Regions from separate parts of the Homo sapiens genome. Here region 2 is linked to region 1. The links are contacts of gene promoters, found by promoter capture Hi-C in human tissues and cell types (Jung and others, 2019). All regions are on one chromosome and are shown on one strand. The core of a region is centred on a gene start or on the middle of the fragment in contact, and the rest is flanking DNA. Distances in the headings are between cores, read along the strand shown. Region 1 holds the start of ZIM3 (zinc finger imprinted 3). Region 2 holds the start of ZNF274 (zinc finger protein 274).

Region 1 (7,440 bases), core at 4,941-7,440:
AAACCCCTATCTCAAAGAACATTTTATTATTTTGGCCGGGCACGGTGGCTCACACCTGTAATCCCTGCACTTTGGGAGGCCGAGGCGGGTGGATCACCTGAGGTCAGGAGTTCGAGACCAGTCTGGCCAACATGAAGAAACCCCATCTCTACTAAAAATACAAAAAATTAGCCAGGCATGGTGGCAGGCGCCTGTAATCCCAGCTACTCAGGAGGCTGAGGCAGGAGAATCACTTGAACCCAGGAGGTGGAGGCTGCAGTGAGCCAAGATTGCGCCACTGCACTCCAGCCAGGGCAACAAGAGCAAAACTCTGTCTCAAGAAAAAAAAGAAAAAGAAAAAGAAAAGAAAAGAAAATGTTATTATATTTTTTTTCTATTTTCCATTTTTCTTTAAGACATCCTGCCTCTATTAGAAATTCTTTTTTAAATAGAGGCCTGGCATGGTGGCTCACACCTATAATCCCAGCACTTCAGGAGGCTGAGACAGGTGGATCACCCGGGGTCAGGAGTTCGAGACCAGCCTCGTCAACATGGTGAAACCCCATCTCTACTAAAAATACAAAAATTAGCCAGGTGTCGTGGTGCGCGCCTGTAATCCCAGCTACTCAGGAGGCTGAGGCAGGAGAATCGCTTGAACCCTGGGAGGTGGAGGTTGCAGTGAGCTGAGATCACACCACTGCACTCCAGCCTGGGTGACAGTGAGACTCCATCTCAAATAAATAAATACATAAATAAGTAGAATAAGCCAATAGCCCCCTAATTCTTCCAGCTACATCTAAACTGACTGTAATCTATTTTCCACAGTCGACATTCAGACTGGATGGTGCGCTCCCCTAATTTATCAGCTTTCCTTGCATTTGGGAGAAACAGGTGACACCTGTTACAGGGGCCAGCGTCTGGCATGTCTACCACACTCCCACTCACACAGGGTCACACAGCACTCCCCTGGGTCTCTCCTGCAGCCATACTGGACTTACGGCAGCATTTTGCCCCTGCCACTCAACACTCACAGTGTTGGAAGTCACACTTGTAAAGCGAATTCCTTTGTCAGAAACTGAAAATCTCACCTCTAAGAGCCAGCACCTAGTGTCCTCTTGGACAGATAAATTTTTTAGTTGTGTTTGTGCTCTAGCTCGCTTTTTTAAAATTTTGTTTATTTATTAATTTTTTTTGGCGGGGAAGGGGACAGAGGCTCACTCTGGTAGCCCAGGCTGGAGTGCAGTGGCACAATCTCGGCTCACTGCAACCTCCACCTCCTGGGTTCAAGCGATTCTCCTGCCTCAGCCTCCTGAGCAGCTGGGATTACAGGCGCGCACCACGACACCTGGCTAATTTTTGTACTTTTAGTAGAGACGGGTTTCACCATGTTGGCCAGGTTGGTCTCAAACTCCTGACCTCAAGTGATCTGCCCGCATCGGCCTCCCGAAGAGCTGGGATTAAAGGGATGAGCCACCGCACCCGGCCTTTTTTTTTAAATTTTTGACACAGGTTCTTGCTCTGCCACCCAGGCTGGAGTACAGTGGCATGATCATGGCTCACTGCAGCCTCAACCTCCCAGGATCAAGCAATCCTCCTACCTCAGCCTCCAGAATAGCTGGGACTACAGGCATGCACCACCATGCTAAGCTCATTTTTTATTATTTGTAGACAGGGTCTCACTATATTGTCCAGGCTGGTCTTGAACTCCTGGCCTCAAGTGGTCTTCCTGCCTTCGCCTCCCAAAGTGCTGGGATTACAGGTGTGAGCCACCACACCCAGCCTTAGTATGCCTTTCCTGTCAACAGGAAATTGGTCAACAGGCTTAATTTTAACAATTGCAAAGAAACTACTATCTGCCTAACTGCATACAACTTATCCTTGGTCTTTCAGCTATCCATAATTTACTTTGATTCCGACTGGTACTAGTTAATGATTTTTCAGTTTATTGTGTGGATTTACAGAATTTGTTTCAAATACACACCGAACAAAGTTGGGAGAGGACACACATTCAAGACACCAATCATTTAAAAAATAGGTTGGGGTGAAACACACATGACACTGTTACATCTCAGGGCTTAGCAGTGGACCAGGTTTGTAAGAGCAATGGTCAAAAGATGCTTGAGGCTGGGCGTGGTGGCTCACCCTTGTAATCCCAGAACTTTGGGAGGCTGAGGCGGGTGGATCACCTGAGGTCAGGAGTTCGAGACCAGCCCGACCAATATGGTAAAACCCCATCTCTACTAAAAATACAAAAATTAGCCGGGCGTGGGCGTGGTGGCGTGCGCCTGTAATCCCAGCTGCTCAGGAGGTTGAGGCAGGAGAATCGCTTGAACCTGGGAGGTGGAGGTTGCAGTGAGCCAAGATCAAGCCATTGCACTCCAGCCTGGGTGGCAGAGGGAGACTGTCTCAAAAAAAAAAAAAAAAAAAAAAACAACAAAACAAAGATGCTTGAGCTGAAACCAGCCCAGTAATCCCATAGACAGTTGTGGGTTTTTTGTTTTTTGTTTTTGTTTTTGTTTTTGTTTTTTGGATAAACATAGAAATTGACCCTTCCGCTGTTAAAGCTTGAAACCTGTATTTGTTTTGTCTGAGTTCCTTCCTCAGGAAAAGACCTTCAGATCTCTCAAAGGCAGGCAGATCACCTGAGGTCAAGATTTCGAGGCCAGCCTGGCCAACATGGTGAAGCCCCGTCTCTACCAAAAAATACAAAAATTAGCCAGGAGTGGTGGTGCGCACACCTGTAATCCCAGCAACTCAGGAGGCTGAGGAAGGAGAATCGCTTGAACCTGGGAGGCAGAGGTTGCAGTGAGCTGAGATTGCACCACTATACTCCAGCCTGGGTGACACAGCGAGACTCCCTCAAAAAAAAAAAATCAACTGAAACTCACCACAACTGAAACTCACCACAACAGATGTCTCCTTGCCCCCTCCCTAGTCTTGCTTTCTTACACATTGTTATATTTCTTCCATGCTGTATAAACCCCTAGTTTTAGTGAGTTAGGGAGATGGATTTGAGGCTGAGCTCCCATTTCTTCACCTACGGCAGCTGATTAAAGCTTCTTCCTTGGCAATACCCATTGTCTCAGTCATTGGCTTTCTGTGCAGCCAGTAGCAGGACCTAGACCAAACTCCTGGTGTTTCCGTAACCAAGCTTTTTTTTTTTTTTTTTTTGAGACAGGGTCATGCTCTGTCACCCAGGCTGGAGTGCAGTGGCACAATCATGGCTCACTGCAGCCTCAACCTCCCAGGTTCAAGCGATTCTCCCACCTCCGCCTCCAGAGTAGCTGAGACTACAGGTGTACGCCACCACCACCACACCCAGCTAATTTTTTGTAGAGACGGGATCTCGCCATGTTGCCCAGGCTGGTTTCAAACTCCTGAACTCAAGCGATCCGCCTGCCTTGGCCTCCTAGATTGCTGAATTACAGGTGTGAGCCACCATGCCCAGCCTTGAGCTTTACTTGAAATGTTTCAGCTTTAATAGGAAAGCAGAAAGTAGAGTGTGTGTTACCTTTTAATAGAAGTATGGAAGGAAGGAGGAAAATATGCCAAAAGGTTAGCACAGTTAATTCTGAGCAAGAGGAACGTGGGTCATACGTTTATTCATTATGAGATTTAGATTTTTTTGAAAAGCTCACCTGGGAATTGTTCATTTCCTGTTCTTCACCAGTCAGTAAAGTCTTGGGAAGGCAGATCTGAGGGAAAATGGAAAAGAACCATGAAATAGCAGAATTCGCTTTGGAAGTTGGGGATCATCCAGCATAGAATGCTCCACACCCTGGATAAAAGCTCTCCCTAACCCACTCAGAAAAGCCCTGACTTGTACCTCAGTGATCCCCTTCTGAAGGTCTTTTTTTTTTTTGTTTTGGTTTTTTTGTGTTTGTTTATTTATTGAGACTGGGTCTCAAAGAAGAAAGTGCAAGCCAGGCACGGTGGCTCACGCCTGTAATCCCAGCACTTTGGGAGGCTGAAGCAGGCAGATCACCAGAGGTCAGGAGTTCGAGACCAGCCTGTCCAACATGGTGAAACCCCGTCTCTACTAAAAATACAAAATTGGCTGGGCGCGGTGACTCATGCCTGTAATGCCAGCACTTTGGGAGGCCGAGGCAGGCGGATCACGAGGTCAGGAGATCAAGACCATCCTGGCCAACACGGTGAAACCCTGTCTCTACTAAAAATACAAAAACAAAATTAGCCAGGCGTGGTGGCGGGCGCCTGTAGTCCCAGCTACTCGGGAGGCTGAGGCAGGAGAATGGCGGGAACCCGGGAGGCGGAGCTTGCAGTGAGCCGAGATCGCGCCACCGCACTCCAGCCTGGGCGACAGAGCGAGACTCCGTCCCAAAAAAAAAAAAAAAGAGAGAGAGAGAAAGCTAAACAGCAGTTCAACAGCACCTTTAAAACAAGCCTGTGCAAAGACAATGAGGCAAGCATCAGATCAGCTAGAGCACAGTAAGGAAGGCCGAGAGCAGAAACCATGAATCCTGAAGCAGCTGTGGTCGTGACGAATAACGCCGCAGTGAACATGGGATGCAGATAGCCCTTCAGCTTTGCCATAAGCGGGACAGCTGGATCATTGGTAATTCTTTGCCAAAAGCGTAGATTTTGGCCACGCGTGGCAGCTCACACCTATAATCCCAGCACTTTGGAAAGCCAAGGTGGGAGGATCAGTTGAGCCCAGGAGTTACTTTTTTTTTTTTTTTTTTAAGACCAAGTCTTGCTCTGTCGCCCAGGCTGGAGTGCAGTGGCACAGTCTCGGCTCACTGCAACCTCTGCCTCCCGGGTTCAAGGGATTCCCCTGCCTCAGCCTCCCGTGTAGCTGGGATTACAGGCATGCACCACCATGCCCAGCTAATTTTTGCATTTTTAGTAGAGACAAGGTTTTACCATGTTGTTCAGGCTGGTCTCGAGCTGCTGATCTCAAGTGATCCGCCGGCCTCAGCCTCCCAAAGTGCTGGGATTATAGGCGTGAACCACCACATCCAGCCAAGCCCAGGAGTTTGAGACCAGCCTGTGCAACATAGTGAAACCTCTGTCTCAATGTTTAAGTAATAAAGTTTTTATTTTTTATTTTATTTTATTGAGGCAGGGTCTCATTCTGTCACCCAGGCTGGAGTGCAGTGATGTGATCCCGGCTCACAGCAGTTTAAAAATCCCTGGCTCAAGCAATCCTCCTACCTTGGCCTCCTGAATAGTTAAGACTATGGGTGCATGCTACCACATCAGCTAACTTTTTATTTTTTGTAAAGAAGGGATCTTGCTATGTCACCTAAACTGGTCTCAAACTCCTAGGCTCAAGCAATCCTCCTCCCTCAGCCTCCCCAAATCCTGGGATTACATGCATGAGCCACCACACCAGCCAGGAATAAAGTTTTAAATAAGTAAATATGTTTTTAAAAAGAATAAACTTGCCGGGCACAACTTTAATGTTTATTAAAGTTTGAGGAGTCCAATTCTAGCACAAAAAATATATATAATTTTAAAAAACAGTAAATTGTAAATGCTTTCACCACAAAAATAGATTAATTAGCTTGATTTAATCATCCCCCCAATGTAAACATGTATCAAAACATCACATTGTACCCCATAAATAAACACAATTATTATTTGTCAATAAAAAGTTTTTAGAAGTAGCTGTGGGCCAGCAGTAATGCTAAGGACTGGAGGGCCACGAAAATAATTTTGAGTGTCCTGGGAGCATCACTTTTCAATATGACAACTAAAAAAAAAATCTAAACTACCAATGTAAAATATTTAGCTTATTCCAGCAAATAGGAGAGGTAGAAAAATGAAACTAAGTAAAAATGCAAAACAAACAAACAAACAAAACCCAGACATTTGGTTTTCAGGGAGAAAAAAAAATCAGCTTACCTCCAGTGGAATCTGGCATAAATTAGCAAGTTGATTGATTTCTGATGCCTGTGGTCTTTTCTTCTGAAAGGGACTGAAAATGAAAAGGCGTGTATACTGAAAAGCTACACTAATGACTAAAACTTAATCGGCCCTCTACCCGCTGTATTCCGCATCATAATCCAGTCAAGAAACAACCCAAAACACTCACTTCCTATCAAAAGCCCCACCTGATCCTATCAGGCCACATCAAAATTTCAATTCCCAATTCTTTCCTCGACTTCTCCAAAACTGAATGAACTCTCATAAAAATTGTGATTGTGAAAGCTTAATTTTCAAATCTGCCCAATCAGTTTCCAATGGAATTTTTTTTAAGTTCATGCAAGTAAAAATTTTTTACCTTAACTTTGAAATAGAAAGCATGGAAAACATTATCCAAATGTCAGAGGATGAAAATAAATTAAAACAACAAAAATTGGCTGGGCACGGTGGCTCATGCCTGTAATCCCAGCACTTTGGGAGGACAGGAGTTCAAGACCAGCCTGGCCAACATGGGGAAACCCCGTCTCTACTAAAAATACAAAAATTAGCTGGTCATGGTGGCACGTGCCTGTAATCCCAGCTACTTGGGAGGCTGAGGCAGGAGAATCGCTTGAACCCGGGAGACGGAGGCTTCAGTGAGCCAAGATCGTGCCACTGCACTCCAGCCTGGGCAATGAGCGAGACTCCATCTCACGTCTCAAAAAAAAAAAAAGAAAGGAAAAGAAAAAAGAAATAGGGCCAGCGGAGGTGGAACAATGCCTTAAAGTGCTCTCCGCCCGACAGAAAGAATTCAGGCTCCAACCTCCAACTGGCAAAATCTCTTCAGCTGTACTAATACTCTCAAAATGAGATCAACATGCCAATCCATCCCCACCCTAGTCTGGGTGTTGAATTTAAACACAGGCTACATGCCCTTGCCTGCAGACATGGAGACCTTCCAAAATTGAGCGTCCAACTGAATTCCAAGAGATTAAACCAGACTTCATGGGACAGGATGCACCAGACTAGACCTCCTCCCAGGAGAAGAGGTATCCAAAGATCGTATTAGCAAATGACCCTTGGCGGTGTGCGGTGGCTCAAGCCTGTAATCCCAACACTTTGGGAGACTGAGGCAGACAGATCACCTGAGGTCAGGAGTTCAAGACCAGCCTGGTCAACATGGTGAAATCCTGTCTCTACTAAAAATACAAAAATTAGCTGGGCATGGTGGTACACACCTGTAGTCCCAGCTACTCAGCTACTCAAGAGGCTGAGGCAGAATTGCTTGAACCCAAAACACAGAGGTTGCTGTGAGCTGAGATCATGCCACTGCACTCCAGCCTGGGCGACAGAGGGAGACTCCATCTCAAAAAAAAAAAAAAGAAAAAAAAAGCAAAATGACCCAGCCAGCCTGAATCCCAGCCGCCGTGTCGGACTACTATAGTCCCAGATACTTGGAAGGCTGAGGTGGGAGGATCAATTGAGCCCAAGAGGTCAAGGCTGCAGTGAGCAAGGATCTTGCCACTGCATTCCAGCCTGAGAGACAGAGCAAGCCTGCAGGTGAACGGAAAGGGGTGGAGTGATTTTATATAT
Region 2 (7,440 bases), core at 2,175-4,674, 1.0 Mb after region 1:
AACTCCATCTCAAAAAAAAAAAGCACATGGAAAAATATTAATATATTTAAATAACTCAGTATCTCAATAAACCTATGCCTGACTATGTGGAATATATATATATTTGAGATGGAGCCCCCTTTAGTAGAGACGGGGTTTCACCATGTTGGCCAGGTTGGTCTCGAACTCCTGACCTCAGGTGATCCACCCACCTCAGCCTCCCAAAGTGCTGGGATTACAGGTGTGAGCCACCGCACCTGGCCCTATGCAGACTATATTAAGAGAGAAAAAGTAAAAATTAAACTTTGCAATTGAATGAAATAACTACTATTTCTACAACACACATTTTCACTTATGATCCATAATGCCTTCTATGTAATTCAAAATTCCAGATATTTTCTAACAGAAAATTTCTCCCTGTTATGAGTCTGCAAAATTTATATGAACAAGGCTATTTATATTTTGTCTCTCTTCCACCTAGTGTAAATCTTCTTGTATTTTGCTACAGATATACTCATGTGTTTGATGGCAGGTGCTACCCCACACCTCTTAGGGATTTACACACTGTATGGTGTAAATACATTACCATCCTACTAAAATCCAAATGATCATGAATTCCAAAATACATCTGGCTCAGAAGGTTTTGAACAAGCAATCGAGGCACTGTCTAAATCCAACAACGATGAATAAATTTTTTCAACATTTTACATGTTTAATAGTTAACATTTCTTCAGAAGTCATTTTTATTTTACAAATTACAATAAACAGCATATTTAATTTGCTAAACAGGAAAAGAGTATGCAGTTATTAAAAGTTGAATTAAAATGGCTCTCATAAATCAATCTTCAATAATATGCTTATATAAAACCATCTTTAGGTTGGGCACAGTGGCTCAAGCCTGTAATCCCAGCACTTTGCGGGGCCGAGGTGGGCGGATCCTCTGAGGTCAGGAGTTCGAGACCAGCCTGGCCAACATGGCAAATCCCCATCTCTACTAAAAATACAAAAATTAGCCGGGCATGGTGGCACGCCCGGCTACTCAGGAGGCTGAGGCAGGGAGAATCACTTGAACCCGGGAGGCAGAGGTTGCAGTTGAGCCGAAATCACGCCATTGCACTCCAGCCTGAGCGAAAGAGCGAGACTCTGTCTCAAAACAAAAAAAAAAAAACAAAACATCTTTGGTCAGGCATGGTGGCTCACGCCTGCAATCCCAGCACTTTGGGAGGCCAAGGCGGGAGGATTGCTTGAGTCCAGGAGTTCAAGACCAGCCCTGACAACACACTGAGACCTCATCTCTACACAAATATTTATTAAAAATTAGCCAGGTGTGGTGATGCACACCAGTAGTCAGTCCTAGCTACTTGGAAAGCTGAGATGGGAGGAACACTTGAGCCCAGGAGGTTGGGCCAGCAGTAAGCCATGACTGCAGCACTGCTCTCCAGCCTGGGCAACAGAACAAGACCCTGTCTCAAAAACAAATTCTTTTAATCAAAAATCAGGTTTTATCCTATACCACATAAATAGAAAGAAATCATTAGAAGAATTTCCACCTGCCTGGGCAACATAGTGAGGTTTCTGTCTCTACAAAAAAGTACAAAAGAGGCCAGGCGGGGTGGCTCATGCCTATAATCTCAGCACTTTGGGAGGCTGAGGTGGGCAGACTGCCTGAGGTCAGGAGTTCGAGACCAGGCTGGCTAACATGGAGAAACCCCGTCTCTACTACAAATACAAAAATTAGCCAGGCATGGTGGCACACACCTGTAGTCCAAGCTACTTGGGCAGCTGAGGCAGGAAAATCGCTTGAACCCAGGAAGCAGAGGTTGCAGTGAGCCGAGATTGTGCCACCTCACTCCAGCCTGGGCGACAGAGCAAGACTCTGTCTCCAAAAAAAAAAAAGCCAGGTGTGGTGGTGTGCACCTGTCCCAGCTATTTGAGAGGCTAAGGTGGGCGGATCACTTGGGCCCAGGAGGTGGAGGCTGCAGTAAGCTGTGATCGCACCAATGCATTCCAGTCGGGGTGACAGAGCAAGACCCTGTCTCAAGAAAAAAAAAAAGAAAGAAAAAAAAGAATTTCCAAGGGGGTTTGCTTCCTTGTGATTATGAAGGGCTAGACGTATCCTATTCAAATCCAGAACAAAACAAGACTATTAGTAAACATGACTACTTAACATAGCTCTGTCATACTAGCTAGGACTATACAATGTTAATTTTTTAAAGTTGAAATATGGAAAAAGAAGATATCAAATTACTTATTAATTGGGGATGGTGTTGTATCTATAATAGACACGAAAAATCCAATGAAATATTATTAGACTATAAGATATCTGCACAGTCTCTGAGTAAATACTCCTATGCCAAAATCAACACACTAACAGCAACAATTAAACAATGTGTAGCCTGAGGTTGGATCCTCCACAGTGACCAAAAAAACCAACAACCCGTGGAACAAGTTTAGCAGGCAGTGTACACGACCACCAGAGGGAGGCAGAGGGCTGCTGAGACCTGCCAGGAAATATCAAGAAAGAGGACACAGGGTCCTGAGCACTGAGAGAGATCATTAGGGCCCTCAGGTCCCAAGAAGACAAGACCATACTGGGACCTGGGACCTAAGGAAGATAAGAAAACACCAGATGTCGGTCCTTGAGGAAGCCAAGAGAATACCTCCTTGTCCTGAGCTCCCAAGGAAGATGAGAGCACCCTGGGCCCAAGGATGGGTGGCACACACCAGGTCCTGGACAGCTACAGACTTAGGTTTCCTCTCCCTAGACATGAGCACCTCAGCTTCCAGGAGCAAACTGGACCACAGGGGGACACTAGGCAGAGGATCCTGCTCCTCCTCCCCAATGCCTGGGGTACAGTTAGCCCTGATCATCTCTCCAGAACTAGGGTAGACGTTTGGCCTCATTCCCATCACACTTGTGGTCCACCTAGTCTTCCCTCCTTCCCCTTGCACACCCCTGACCTTCCTACTCCCTTCCTCTAATCCCCAGAACTAGGGTGGACGTTTGGCCACGTTCCCATCACACTTCCGGTCCTCCGAGTTTCCCTCCCCTCCCTGACCTTGAGTGGACACTTGGCCCTGTCCACCCTCACTTTCAGGCAGGACCCATCTCCCAGAAACATAAGTGCCGTCAGTCCCAACTCCTGCACACTTCCGGCTCTCCCAGTCCTCCCCTTCTTTCTCGACTTTGAAACTGGTGGAACTTCAGTACCTCTCCCCACTCCCCCCGCGACTTCCGTCTTCCAGTCCCCCTCCTTCCCCAAAAGTTGCGTGGACTCTAGCCCCGCCTCCTACATTCTCCCCGCCCTCCCTGTCCCCGCCCCTCCACCCAGATGGACGGCCAGTTAGGCCCGCCCCCTGCACTTCCGGCCCTACCCGCCCTTCCTCTTCCCAAGGGACGTCATAATTAATCCCGCCCCCACCGCCACCCAACCAAGCATCACCCATTCCAGCACTTCCGGCCTGACCCCTGTCCAGCGCCTTTCCTTTCTCCAGCTTCTGCTCTGCCCCAAGAGTGGTCGCCTTCGTGGCAGGGCACGACTCTCTCCCAGCTCGGGTCGCCGCCCACATTAGTGTGGGGCCCTGCGGCCTAGCGTCCCTCACCAGAGGCCTCCCCTTGCCTAGCTGGACCGCCGAGGGACATCGACGAGTATCCTCCTCCTGCTGTCCCCGGCTTCGCCTGCCGCCCCTAACCGGCCAGTCAAGATGGCCGCCGCTGGGTGAGGCAAGCTGGCGCGCCGCGGGGGCGTCTGGGAGTTGTAGTTCGGGACGGCGGGCTGACGCACTTCGCCGCCGGCCGACGGGCGCCATTGTGCGGCGCGCGCCGGGTGAGTGCCGCGCGAAACCTGCGTCCGTCGGGGGCTGCGCTGGGCGGGTCCAGAACCGTTAGTTGGGGGCGAGCGCGGCCTCTGCATTTTCCGCCGAGCTCGGGTACCCTGAGCCGGCCGTGCCTGCAGTCCTCCCGCCGCTCTGTGGGATGGGGTCGGTGACCCGGAACCCCGAGGGGAGACAGTGCTTTCGGGGCGCCGCGGTGGAGAGAACAGATCGCCTCCGGAAGCGTGGGGTCTGGGCCAGGGAGGCGATCCCCTCCGATGCGCGGGACAGAGGAGGCTCGGTGTCCTCTCGGGGAGGGGAAAACTGGTCCTATCCAGTCCTGTGGGAGTCCTATGACTCACTCTGGGCGTTTTCCAGTTTGGGTGGACTTGTCATTTCCCGCTGAGGGAGCCGTTCCTGGGCGGAGGCTGCGGTAGCTCCCCAGCGGACACCTTAAGCCTCTCCCTCCCCTCCCAACTTCGGTTTCCTCAGGACTCTGCCCACTTCCACCAGAGACACATTGAGAAGGAGGAAACTATGGCCTCCAGGCTTCCGACGGCCTGGTCCTGTGTGAGTAGAGGCTTCCTTCAGCTTTTGAGTCCGCTACTGCACCTGGGAGGATGCGGATGGTGGTGAGATACCACCTTCCCTGAGATACCCCCATCCTCCAGAGCACCTCGGGGAGGGGGTAGAGATTGGTTGGGCATGAGAGATCCTGCGTGATGGTGGAACCGCAGGTTGCTTGGTTTTCCAAGGGTGTAGTTAGAATAGAGACCAGATTGTAGGGGCTTCTGAAGGCCAGGTTAAGGCTCTTGCTTGTATCCTTTATATTGGGAAGAGTAATTGACAGGTCTTTTGTTTGTTTGTTTTTTGTTTTTTGAGATGGAGTCTCCCTCTGTCGCCCAGGCTGGAGTGCAGTGGCGCGATCTTGGCTCACTGCAACCTCCGCCTCCTGGGTTCAAGTGATTCTCCTGCCTCAGCCTCCCCGAGTAGCTGGGACTACAGGCGTGTGCCACCATACCCAGCTAATTTTTTTTTTATTTTTATTTTTTGTGTGTGTTTTTTGTGGAGACGGGGTTTCACCATGTTGGCCAGGCTGGTCTGGAACTCTTGACCTAAGGTGATCCGACCATCTCGGCCTCCCAAAGGTCTATGCAGGGATCAGGCTTATGTTTAGATTTCAGCAGATAAATTGGCATCAAGCAAGAGGTGACAGCAGCAGAGTTCAATAACAAGTAGAAAAGACAGGTGAGGATGGATCCCTGACAGGTGAAGGAGATAGAAAGAAGCATCAGGGCCCTGGGTAGGGGCTGACGGCTTGGGTGTGATGGTGCAGCTCAGAGAATTCCCTAGGAGGCATACGCACCACTCCCAAAGTCAGAATTTTCAAATGAATAAGAAATAGGGGGCCGGGCGCGGTGGCTCACGTCTGTAATCCCAGCACTTTGGGAGGCCGAGGCAGGTGGATCACGAGGTCAGGAGATTGAGACCATCCTGGCTAACATAGTGAAACCCCGTCTCTACTTAAAAAAATACAAAAAATTAGCCGGGCGTGGTGGCGGGCGCCTGTAGTCCCAGCTACTCGGGAGGCTGAGGCAGGAGAATGGCGTGAACCGGGGAGGCGGAGCTTGCAGTGAGCCGAGATGGCGCCACTGCACTCCAGCCTGGGCGACAGAGAGAGACTCCGTCTCAAAAAAAAAAGAAAAGAAAAATAGGGCCGGGTGCGGTGGCTCACATGTGTAATCCCAGCACTTTGGGAGGCCGAGGCAGGCAGATCACAAGGTCAGGAGTTCGAGACCAGCTTGACCAACATGGTGAAACCCCATCTCTACTAAAAATACAAAAATTAGCCGGGCATGGTGGTATGCGCCTGTAATCCCAGCTACTCAGGAGGCTGAGGCAGGAGAATCGCTTGAACCTGGGAGGTGGAGGCTGCAGTGAGCCAAGATTGCGCCACTGCACTCCACTAGGAGACAGAGTGAGACTCTGTCTCAAAACAATAAATAAATAAATTAAATAAATAAATAAATAAATAAAATGGACAGATTTTCATATGCTACAGAGATCTCATGTGTTGCTCTCCTTATTGTAACCTGAATAGAGTCAAGCTTGGGTTTGCTTGGGGTTTCAGACAAAGACAGGAACTCAGGATGAGACTCCCAAAATGCCCTTGGGTCATCTTGTAGACCATTCTGTGCTTTCACTGGCCTGGTCAGCCTCCCCTGTCTTTCTTTTGTCGTGGATGCGGATGGCCTGTGGCTGAACAAGAATCTGGATTTTTAGGAACCAGTGACCTTTGAAGATGTAACACTGGGTTTTACCCCGGAAGAGTGGGGACTGCTGGACCTCAAACAGAAGTCCCTGTACAGGGAAGTGATGCTGGAGAACTACAGGAACCTGGTCTCAGTGGGTAAGGCTGGCCTCCAGGTCAAGAAGGATCTGTGCTTTGTAGCACAAATGTAGCACCTCTGAAGTATGTGTCTGCTTGGGCTCACACTGCAGGGGCACCAGTAGGAAAAGGGCAGCTTTTCAGTATGACTTCTGAATCATTGCCTAGTCCATCCCTCCCTGAATACCAGGGAGATGGGTCTGTCAGGGATGTTTTCAGCTGCAGTAGTGGATGCTTATTGTTCTTGCAACAAGAGTTCCGGCCAGGCATGGTGGCTCACTTTAGGAGACTGAAGCAGGAGGATTGCTTGAGCCCAGGAGTTTGAGACCAGCATGGGCAACATAGACCGTGTCTCTATTAAAAAAAAAAAAAAAAAGAAACTCCACAGAAATTCCAGACAATGCGATGCCAGTGTCCCAACAGCTTAGGAGTAGCATCAAAGAGCCTGTCCCTGCCAGGCACGGTAGCTTACGCCTGTAATCCTGGCACTTTGGGAGGCTGAGGCAGGCAGATCAGTTGAGGTCAGGAGTTCTAGACCAACCTGACCAACATGATGAAACCCTGTCTTTACTAAAAATACAAAAATTAGCCGAGCACCCCAGCTACTCAGGAGGCTGAGCCAGGAGAACTGCTTGAACATGGGAGGTGGAGGAGATTGCAGTGAGCTGAGATCAGATCACAGCACTCCAGCTTGGGCAACTGAGCAAGACTCCGTCTCAAAAAAAAAAAAAAAAAGCCTGTCCCTTCAAACTCTGGTTATTGTGAACCTTTCCATGTTCCCCCTAGTCATTGCACAGCTGTGGCTCCAAGCATTGCATCTGTGTTCAAGGCAGAAACAAGGAGAAGGGGTAGCCCTTTCACAGCTGTCATGTTTAACCAGAAAGCAAAAGCTTTCCCAGCTGACCGATCTCCCTTTGTGTCTGGCTGACCAGAACTGGACCCCTTAGCTGCTTGGCAAAGGAGTCTAGGAAAGCCAACAACAGGGATGGATGGAGTTGTGTTCACTGCTCTAGGCCAGAAGTCATGTGCCTTAGCAGGGGAGAAGCTGGAGACGGCTTGTGCTGCAGTAGGATAGCATTTTCTCCTGAACACAGACCCCCACAAGCCCTGTCTCTTTTCCTTTGAGCAGAACATCAGCTTTCCAAACCAGATGTGGTATCTCAGTTAGAGGAGGCAGAAGATTTCTGGCCAGTGGAGAGAGGAATTCCTCAAGACACCATTCCAGGTGAGAACCAGACATGGGAAGCCCCCACAGGGAA

The links. The method cuts DNA at HindIII sites, captures the fragments that hold promoters and counts their contacts. A contact is called where the count stands out against the background at its distance.
Region 2: a contact is called between the fragment with the promoter of ZNF274 here and the fragment with the promoter of ZIM3 in region 1, in 1 of the 25 tissues and cell types used here (small bowel).

The regions. Positions count from the first base shown.
Region 1 is chr19:57,139,012-57,146,451 of GRCh38, forward strand. ZIM3 (zinc finger imprinted 3) reads right to left here and starts at 6,191. Exons shown (of 5, transcript NM_052882.1): 1 at 5,848-6,191; 2 at 3,618-3,674. The coding sequence starts at 3,632. The HindIII fragment of the contact is 26,155 bases long and covers 4,642-7,440 here.
Region 2 is chr19:58,179,637-58,187,076 of GRCh38, forward strand. ZNF274 (zinc finger protein 274) reads left to right here and starts at 3,425. Exons shown (of 8, transcript NM_133502.3): 1 at 3,425-3,806; 2 at 4,285-4,362; 3 at 6,076-6,202; 4 at 7,311-7,406. The coding sequence starts at 4,330. RefSeq lists enhancers at 3,036-3,749, 3,418-3,837, 3,750-4,461, 4,088-4,277. The HindIII fragment of the contact is 17,090 bases long and covers 1-6,485 here.